3 separate regions of the Homo sapiens genome follow, and regions 2 and 3 are each linked to region 1. The links are contacts of gene promoters, found by promoter capture Hi-C in blood cells and fetal thymus (Javierre and others, 2016). All regions are on one chromosome and are shown on one strand. Each heading gives the region's core, a stretch centred on a gene start or on the middle of the fragment in contact. The rest is flanking DNA. Distances are from core to core; before and after follow the strand shown. Region 1 holds the start of RHOT2 (ras homolog family member T2). Region 2 has its middle 5.9 kb from the start of CACNA1H. Region 3 overlaps LOC107984906 (a long non-coding RNA gene).

Region 1 (2,528 bases), core at 1-2,500:
AGCCTCACGCTGGCTGCTCACAGGTGGTGGAGAAGATACCACTGCCCTTTTTTGCCATGTCCCTGAGCCTGTCCCCCGGGACCCACCTCCTGGCTGTTGGCTTTGCTGGTGAGTGCTGGTGGATGCAGTTTGGGCCTGTCTTAGGTGGGGGCCAAGTGGGCTGACTGGTGCCCTGTTCCAAGACAGGTGCCTCACCTGTGCCCCGGGCTCCTCGTCTCTGGGGTGGGGTGAGGACATCTGCCCTAGAGAGGGTCCTGGAGTCAGGAGATGATGAGGCAGGTGAGGAACCAGGCACAGCGCCCAGCACAGGGCCTGAATGCACGGGTGGCAGCGACTTTTAAGGAGGGAACTGGCCCAGCTGCAGGCCGACAGCCTGGCAGTGATGGACCCCCTAGTCCCAGTGGCACGTGGAGGGCACAGCCAGGAGCCCTTTTAGCACCAGCTCCCCCGACCAGCATCATGCCCAGTGGGGACAGTCTGGGTGGGTTGGGGGAGCCCTCTGAGTGCTGCCTGGTCCTGGCCCTGGCCCACCTGCACCGTCTACCCACAGAGTGCATGCTGAGGCTGGTAGACTGTGCCATGGGGACTGCCCAAGACTTTGCCGGCCACGACAACGCAGTGCACCTGTGCAGGTTTACACCGTCCGCCAGGCTGCTCTTCACGGCCGCCCGCAACGAGATCCTTGTGTGGGAGGTCCCCGGCCTCTGAGATGCAGCAGGGACTGTGGTGGTGGGCATCACGCCTGGTCATGCCAGGCACCTGGACACAGGCTTGGCAGAGGCGCCAGGTTGTCAATGGCCTCATGCTGGGACAGGCCAGGATTCACGTAAATCGCCTGGAGCAAGCTGTTGTAAATTTGGCGCCCTGTGAATACTTTCATACCTGTTGCCCTTTTGCCTAAGAAATCTTTAATGTTTCTATCTTGTAATAAACATGGGCATTTATTGCATTATTGCTGCATTGTTGCACTGGCTGTCTCTGGTCACTCCTGGCCTGAGCTCAGCCTCTGCCCGTCCCTTAATCGGCTGTTTGTCAAGGCCCCTGTGGTGCCGTGAAGCAATGGCCGCTCGGCCTGCCAGGGCGCCAGGACCCTGCGCTGTCCGCCGTGGCCGGCGCGTCCACACGGTGGCGCGCCGCACAGCCTGTCCGCTCTGGCCCGCCCGGCTCGCTGGTGCGGCTGTGCGGGCGGGGCCGGAAGTGTGGGGACAGCGCGGGGCCGAGAACCGGAAGTGCGGGGCGGGCGCGGGGGCAGAGCGAAAGGCTTGAGGACCAGGTCGGGGCCGGGTTCCGGGTCGGGGAGCGGCTCCGGGCGGCAGCTATGAGGCGGGACGTGCGCATCCTGTTACTGGGCGAGGGTAGGCGCCGGCCCGGGGGTCTCGGAGCTGCGGCGGCCGTGAGGCGGGGTGAGGGTCTCGGGGGTCGGGGGGCGCCGTGACCTTGGCCCTCGCGCTGACCGCCTCGCCCCGCGCAGCCCAGGTGGGGAAGACGTCGCTGATCCTGTCCCTGGTGGGCGAGGAGTTCCCCGAGGAGGTAAGGGGCACGCCCGCCGCGGGGGTGGGAGCGGGCCCAGCCGGGGGTCCCTGGTGAGCGCGCGGGTCCCTTGCAGGTCCCTCCCCGCGCGGAGGAGATCACCATCCCCGCGGACGTCACCCCGGAGAAGGTGCCCACCCACATCGTGGACTACTCAGGTAGCGGCCGTAGCCTCCCGGGGGCCCGGCCCGCAGCGGTCCGGCGGGCCTGCTGGGTCCGCAGTGGAGTCTCTTTGTCCCCCTAGAAGCCGAGCAGACGGACGAGGAGCTGCGGGAGGAGATCCACAAGGTACCCGTGGTGCGCGGGACGAGGGAGGGGCTGGGCGCGGGCTCGGCCTAATCCGCTTCGCAGCCTGGGGGATTGGACCGAGGTGCTCCGGGTGTCCTTGGCCCTGATAATTCTGTGACCTCCGCACTGAGGGTTGTCGGGGCCCCTACAGCGCACCCCGCTGGGAGCCGGCACCGCTCAGTCCAGTGGTGCTCCAGGGATAACAGGACCCTTCCCCGCGGGCTCTCCCTCCCTCCTGCCGGGGTGGCAGCAGCGTTTGCTCTTCCTGTGGGCTCTGTGTGCGCCACGTCCCCGTGCTGTGTGCTCCAGCCCACCGTCCCGGCCTCCGGGCACCCGGAGCTCCCAGTACCAGAGCACGTGTGCCGGGGACATCTCCAGGCAAGGGCACAGGCCACAGCCACCCAGGGCAGCCCCTGCTGTTGGCACCCCTCACTGCGGTCCTGTCACTCTGTCTGTAGCGAGGGGGGAGGCAGGGGCCAAGGCGGCGGCTGTCTTGCAGGGTGTTGGGTTGCAGGTGTGGCCGTGTCTGTCCTGAGCCCTCTGCTCCAAGGGTCTTGCTGACCACAGTTATGCTTCTGGGGCCTGGTGTCCCTGCACTGGCAGTGGGCGGGGAAGAGGCTTCTCTGAGGGTTCAGCAGCAGCTCCCAGTGTGACACTGGGGAGTGCCTGCTCTGCCAACACCAGGCTGGAGGCAGGTTTTAGGGAAGGCT
Region 2 (3,030 bases), core at 199-2,698, 480 kb after region 1:
CAGGCCCCCGCCCCGGGTCTGGCTCAGCTGGTTCCTCAGATGTCCCTGGGCGGCCTGGCACCTTCTCTGAGGAGCCCCCGGGTGAAATTCCCCCAAAAACACACACTCTAGGCCCACGCGTGGTCATCTGTGGTTCCAAGGGCCTCGCCTGGCCGAGCCGAGAGCTGGGGCACCCGGCACCTGAGGGTTGGAGGGGTGACGGACCCGGGGCTGCCTGCAGACCCACGTTTCAGGGGCTCCTCTTGTGTGGATCTCCTTGGAGCTCCCGGGGCTGGGCCTGGGCTGGGGTAGGGCGAGGTGGGGGTGTTGAGGGTGGTCTGGTGGCCAGACCTGGGATCTGGGGGACCTGCTGCATTACCTCTTGAGGACTCCCTAAGAAAGGACCCCGTGACTCTGCACCAGCTCAGCCCTTCCTGCAAGCAGAGGGGCTGTGCAGAGCTGGGGGCTGGTGAGGGAACCAAGCAGGGGAGAGGGGCACCCATGTCTGCTTTGCGCCTTCCACGGCCCCTTGAAGTCTGTCTGGAAGCACCCGGCCTGGGCTCACCCCATCCTGTCACTTTCCCTCCCAGGTCAACCCCTCCTCCTTCCCACTCCACAGTGATCCGGGGGATTCAGCAGCTCAGGCAGAGTTGGGTGCTGCCAGGCACGTGCCCTCTGCCCACCCCCACACACCCCAGACTCAGCTCCCTGCCCCCCATGCCCTCGGAGGAGGCTTCCCTGACACATTTGGGTCCAGGAGACTGAACCAGACGTGTCCACCCCGGCCTCAAGGCCTTGGCCCAGGCCAGAGGCAGCCCCACCCCTAGGGCCTCCGAGATCCTGCGGACCCCAAGGGACAGGCTGAAGGCTCTGCTCCCCCAGCCCAGCTCCATCCTGGGTTCTGTCTCCTCCCATGAGGCCACGCCCTCTGGCTCCGCCCCCACAGGGAGCTGTTAAAAATGGCCTCCCTCTTTCTGAGCCTTTGTCACGTGCGGGCTCCCATCCTTCATGACTGCTTTCACAGCCTGAGGCGGAGCTCACACACGGACGGACGGCTCACCCACTTATGGGTGAGTTTTCAGTGCACCCAGCGGTGCAGCCGTCTCTGCAGGTCTCGCTCTGTCGCCCAGGCTGGAGTGCAGTGGCACAATCTCCACTCACTGCAGCCTCGACCCCTCAGAGTCAAGTGATCCTCCTACCTCAGCCTCTCGAGTAGCTGAGATCACAGGCACCACCACCACACCTGGCTAATTTTATTTCATTTTTTTTTTTTTTTTTTTTGTAGAGACGGGGTTGGGTCTCAGTATGTTGCCCAGGCTGGTCTCAAATTCTTGGGCTCAAATGATCTTCCTGCCTGGCCCCCATAAAAGCTTGGATTGCAGCTTTTATGGTGGTGTCAACTGTCACCGCCCTAAAATAAACCCCTTTCTGTGTTAGTCTGTTTCGTGTTGTTGTAAAGGAATGCTTGGGACTGGGTGATCTCTAAAGAAAAGAAGTTGATTTGGCTCACGGTCCTACAGGCTGTATAGGAAGTACAGCGCAGGTATCTGCTTCTGGGGAGGCCTCAGGAAGCTTCCAATCATGGCAGAAAGGAAGGAGAACCCAAAAGTCACATGGAGGGAGAGGGTGCCAGGGAGAGGAGGAGGTGCCAGCTGCTGTGTGAACTACTGGAGCAAGAAAGCACTCATCATCACTGGACAGCAGCAAGCCACTCCTGAGGAATCCGCCCCTGGTGCAGACACCTCCCACCAGGCCCACTTCCAACCCTGGAAGTCACGTTTCAACATGAGATTTGGAGGGGGGGCCACACATCCAAACCAAACAAACCCTCTGCTTGCTAGACGTCTCCCCTCCCCCACCCCCCCTCCCCCAGCCCTTGGCAGCCACCCCTCTTTGTTCTATGGATTTACCTGTGCTGAAAATCTCATCTAATGATCCTATGATGTTTGTCATTTTGTGTCTGGCTTATTTCACTTGGTGTGATGTCTTCAATGTTCATCCACGTGTGTCAGAATGTCATTTTTTTTGAGACAGAATGTTGCTCTGTTGCCCAGGCTGGAGCGCAACGGCGTGATCTCTACTCACTGCAAGCCCCACCTCCCGGGTTCAAGCGATTCTCCTGCCTCAACCTTCTGAGTAGCTGGGACTACAGGCGCCCACCACCATGCCCGGCTAATTTTTGTATTTTTAGTAGAGACAGAGTTTCTCCGTGTTGATCATGTTGATCAGGCCGGTCTCAAACTCCCAACCTCCTGATCTGCCTGCCTCAGCCTCCCAAAGTGCTGGGATTACAGGTGTGAGCCACCGCGCCCGGCTGTGTCATTCCTTTTCATGGCTGAATAATATTCCACCATATGAAGAGGCCACATTTTATCTGCTTATCTGTGGGATACTTGGGATGTCTACACCTTTGGCTTTTGTGAACGATGCTGCTGTGGACACCCGAGTCCACAGTTCTGTGTGGACACACATTTTCATTCCTCTTGGGCACACCCGGAACAGAAATTGCCAGGTTGCATGGTAATTCCATATTTAATCATTTGAGGAACTGCCTGTTCATGATCACTTTTTATTTGATGAAGCATTGATTTTCCAGAGAAGGAAATTTAAGGCTCAGAGAGGGTAAGACACATGTCCAAGGCCACACAGCCAGGAAGTGGTGGAGCTGGCATTTGAACCCAGGCCGTGCGTCTGCAGAGCCAGAGAAAGGCCCGGAGCTTCCCTCCCCAGGTCCCCAGGCGGCCTGCGGGCCCCTCCACAGCCCAGTGATCCTTCAAGCACTCCCAAGCCCAGCCTCCGCCTGCAGCCCCTCCACAGCCTGTCCAGGGCAGGGAAGGGCCACCTCACAGGCCACGGCCTCTTCCGCGCAGTGCCTGGGGGCCGGTCTTGGGGACAGTGGCGTGGTGCCCCTGCCTCTCCCGTCTTCCACACAGACAACTGCGAAGGTGAGAAGGGTGAGCGGCGTCTAGACGGCGCTGTCCACCCAGCGGCAATAAAATCGGATGTTTCCGCACACAGCACCGTCACAGGCTATCACCGTTTAACACGGCA
Region 3 (3,030 bases), core at 155-2,654, 440 kb after region 1:
GGGTGTTTGCGGGTGAAGCAGGAAGGTGTGCAGTTTCCTCCAGGGAAAGTCCTGGGCGTGCTTGGTGGAGGGAGAGGAGGCTGGGCACGCAGGGCCAGGTAGGGTGACGGTCCCACAGGCTCCCCATCCGAGGTCCCCCCGGGGCTATGCTGGCTCCCTACCTGGGGAAGTCCCAGGCCGCGGGGACAAGCCCGACGCCGTCCCATTCACCTTCACCACCCACCCGGAACCGGCCTTCCAGATACGGCCGAGTTAAACCACGTTCAGAGGGAGCCATAAAACTCCAGGGTGAGATGAGATCACACGCTGATCCTGACTGCAGATCCCGACTGCAGCGGGAAGATAAATGTCTGAGTGTTGAAGGGATTGGAGGAATCGTTGGAAGCAAGATGGATGGTCTCATAGATATGAAAGTGACTTCACGAAGAAACTTCTGCCTGGTGGAACGGAGTGGGACAGAGAGGAAAGGGCAGGGGAACAGGGGCAGGGGGCTGAGGCCCAGGCAGGTTCTGCTGCAGCCCACGCCCACCCGCCAGCACGCAGGGAAGCTTGACTTTCCTACCTCAGCTGTGCCAGCTGCCTGCAGTGCCTGGGCCTTCCATCCATAAGTCAGTGACAGTGAGGGCATGGCCTGGGAGTGAAGGTAGACACAGAACAGTGCCCGACAGGCGGCAGGTGCCTGAGAAGCATTTGTTATCATCGTCACTATCATCACTGTTTTTTTGTTTTTTGGTTTTGTTTTTTTCTGAGATGGAGTCTTGTGCTGTCGCCCAGGCTGGAGTGTAGTGGTGTGATCTCAGCTCACTTCAATCTCCGCTTCCTGGGTTCAAACAATTCTCCTGCCTCGGCCTCCTGAGAAGCTGGGACTATAGGCGCCCACCATCACGCCTGGCTAATTTTTGTATTTTTAGTAGAGACAGGGTTTCACCATGTTGGCCAGGCTAGTCTCGATCTCCGGATCTCATGATCCACCCGTTCAGCCTCCCAGAATGCTGGGATTCCAGGCGTGAGCCCCCGCTCGCGGCCACCGCTATGGTTTTATTCTGGTGTAAATCACGTAACAGAAACCTCACCGTTTTAACTGCCGTAAAGCGTGCAGTGTGGTGGCGTCTGGCACATTCGTAGCACTGTGCAACCATCGCTGCCATCTGGTTCCAGAATCTTTCGTTGCCATCCCCAAAAGGAAGCCCTCAGCCCATGCGTGGTTACTCCCATCTCCCCAGATGCTGGGAACCGCAACTCACTGCTCTGAGCACAGTGTGGAAGAGGAGTCTCAAGCATGTGGTCCTCTGTGTCCCGCTCCGCCCTGATGTGGTGACTTGAGGCCGGTCCCCTCTCCTGGCTGAGTTGTGTTTGCACTGTGGAGACTGTGAGCTGCACTCTGGTAATCATGTCTGTGCACGTTTTTGTCTGAAGACCCGTTTTCAACCCATTTGGGTATATCATTATTATTTTTTTGAGACAGGGTCTCACTCTGTGGCCCAGGCTGGAGCACACTGGTGCAATGGCGGCTCACTGCAGCCTCAAACTCATAGTCTCAGGCGAGTCTCCCATCTCAGCCTCCCAAGTAGCTGGAACTACAGGCACCTGCCACCGCACTCAGCTAATTTTTATATATTTTGCAGAGACAGGGTTGCCCAGGGTGGTCTCAGACTTCTGAGCTCAAGAGATCCACCCACCTTGGCCTCCTGAAGTTCTGGGATTACAGTCGTGAGCCACTACACTGGGCCAATTATTTTTAAAATCCTGCTAAAACCCACCTGAAAAGCCTTAAAGACCGTGACTTTCAAAACATGGGAATGGACCCCTGGCAACGTGAGAGGGCAAGCTCCGCCTTCCTGGTGTCTTTTTTTTTTTTTTTGAGACGGAGTCTTGCTCTGTCACCCAGGCTGGAGTGCAGTGACATGATCTCGGCTCACTTCAGCCTCCACCTCCCAGGTTCAAGCAATTCTCTGTTTCAGTCTCCTGAGTAGCTGAGATTACAGGCACCCACCACCACACCTGGCTAATTCTTTTGTATTTTTAGTAGAGACGGGGTTTCACCATCTTGGCCAGGTTGGTCTTGGACTCCTGACCTCATGATCCACCCACCTTGGCCTTACAAAGTGCTGGGATGACAGGCATGAGCCACCGTGCCCGGCCGGTCCTGCTTTCTAGAAAAAACTGTAGTGCGCGCTCCAGAGACGTAACCCGTTCCCACACCTGAGTGGGCAACTCTAGCCTTTGAACACAGCCCTAGGAAATGACTGCAAATGAGGGGGAAGCTTTTTAAATACAAGGAAAAAGGCATTTGTACCAAGCTACATCGCAGTGAAATTATCATTGGAAAACAGTGGAAAGAGGCTGTGTGTCCCCCCACGGGTCAGGCGCAGTCCCAGGGAGGTCTAGACCCCAAGAGCAGAGAGGCCTACGGGAGGCACGGCTTGTGCCAGGAGGTGGGGTATGCGGCCACCAGGCACTCTAGTTACACAGCGATGGGCTGAAGGCTGTGCATCCCGCAGGGAGTGAGCCCTCCGACCCTGGAGGAGTTCAAGCAGCTGCTTGTCAGGATGCAGCGACAGGAGGGACACCGTTGCAGCCGATGCCCGAGACAGCCAGAGGCTGCCGGCATCCAGCAGCAGAGAGGCTGGGCCTGGAATGGACCCCCAGAAGCTGGCCAGAGGCCTGGCAGTTGGGAAAGGCTCGGTCGTCCTGGGGAGGGAGCAGCACCAGCGGAGGCCCCGCCTGGGTCTTCATCAGAGACACTCCAAGCTGGTGGGGGATTCCTGGGACAGTGTCACCCCCGGCAGGCCCCAGGTGCCCACCGCCCACCCGGCCACAGTGGGAGCAGCTCGGGTCAGGGAGGCCGGGCTGAATGCAAACCACTGCTGAGGAGACAAACGCGGCGCCACGAGCAGGTCAGGAGAGAACTCCCTCCCGCGGGCCGTCCGCGGACCCTGGCGTCAGCCAGCATGTCCTGAGCCACAGACGAGGCTGTCCCAGGTGTGAAAGAGGGTCTGTGCCTCCGAGTGGAGGCCGGTCCCACGCTGT

Evidence for each region. The method cuts DNA at HindIII sites, captures the fragments that hold promoters and counts their contacts. A CHiCAGO score of 5 or more calls a contact.
Region 2: a fragment that was not itself captured here is called in contact with the fragment with the promoter of RHOT2 in region 1 in 1 of 17 cell types (naive B cells); the score reaches 5.7 in naive B cells.
Region 3: a contact is called between a fragment that was not itself captured here and the fragment with the promoter of RHOT2 in region 1, in 1 of 17 cell types (naive B cells). The highest score is 5.2, in naive B cells.

Annotation. Positions count from the first base shown.
Region 1 is chr16:666,882-669,409 of GRCh38, forward strand. It overlaps RHOT2 (ras homolog family member T2), which reads left to right and starts at 1,251. Exons shown (of 19, transcript NM_138769.3): 1 at 1,251-1,355; 2 at 1,472-1,530; 3 at 1,607-1,688; 4 at 1,775-1,818. The coding sequence starts at 1,319. WDR90 (WD repeat domain 90) reads left to right here. Exons shown (of 41, transcript NM_145294.5): 40 at 24-108; 41 at 551-949. The coding sequence ends at 708. RefSeq lists an enhancer at 962-1,643 and silencers at 1,029-1,368, 1,429-1,528, 1,629-1,718. The HindIII fragment of the contact is 48,981 bases long and covers 1-2,528 here.
Region 2 is chr16:1,145,690-1,148,719 of GRCh38, forward strand. No RefSeq gene overlaps it. Among named protein-coding and RNA genes, the nearest start is that of CACNA1H, 5.9 kb to the right of the region's middle. RefSeq lists an enhancer at 1-74. The HindIII fragment of the contact is 202 bases long and covers 1,348-1,549 here.
Region 3 is chr16:1,109,557-1,112,586 of GRCh38, forward strand. LOC107984906 (a long non-coding RNA gene) reads left to right here. Exons shown (of 2, transcript XR_007064936.1): 1 at 1-3,030. Among named protein-coding and RNA genes, the nearest start is that of C1QTNF8, 15 kb to the left of the region's middle. The HindIII fragment of the contact is 1,716 bases long and covers 547-2,262 here.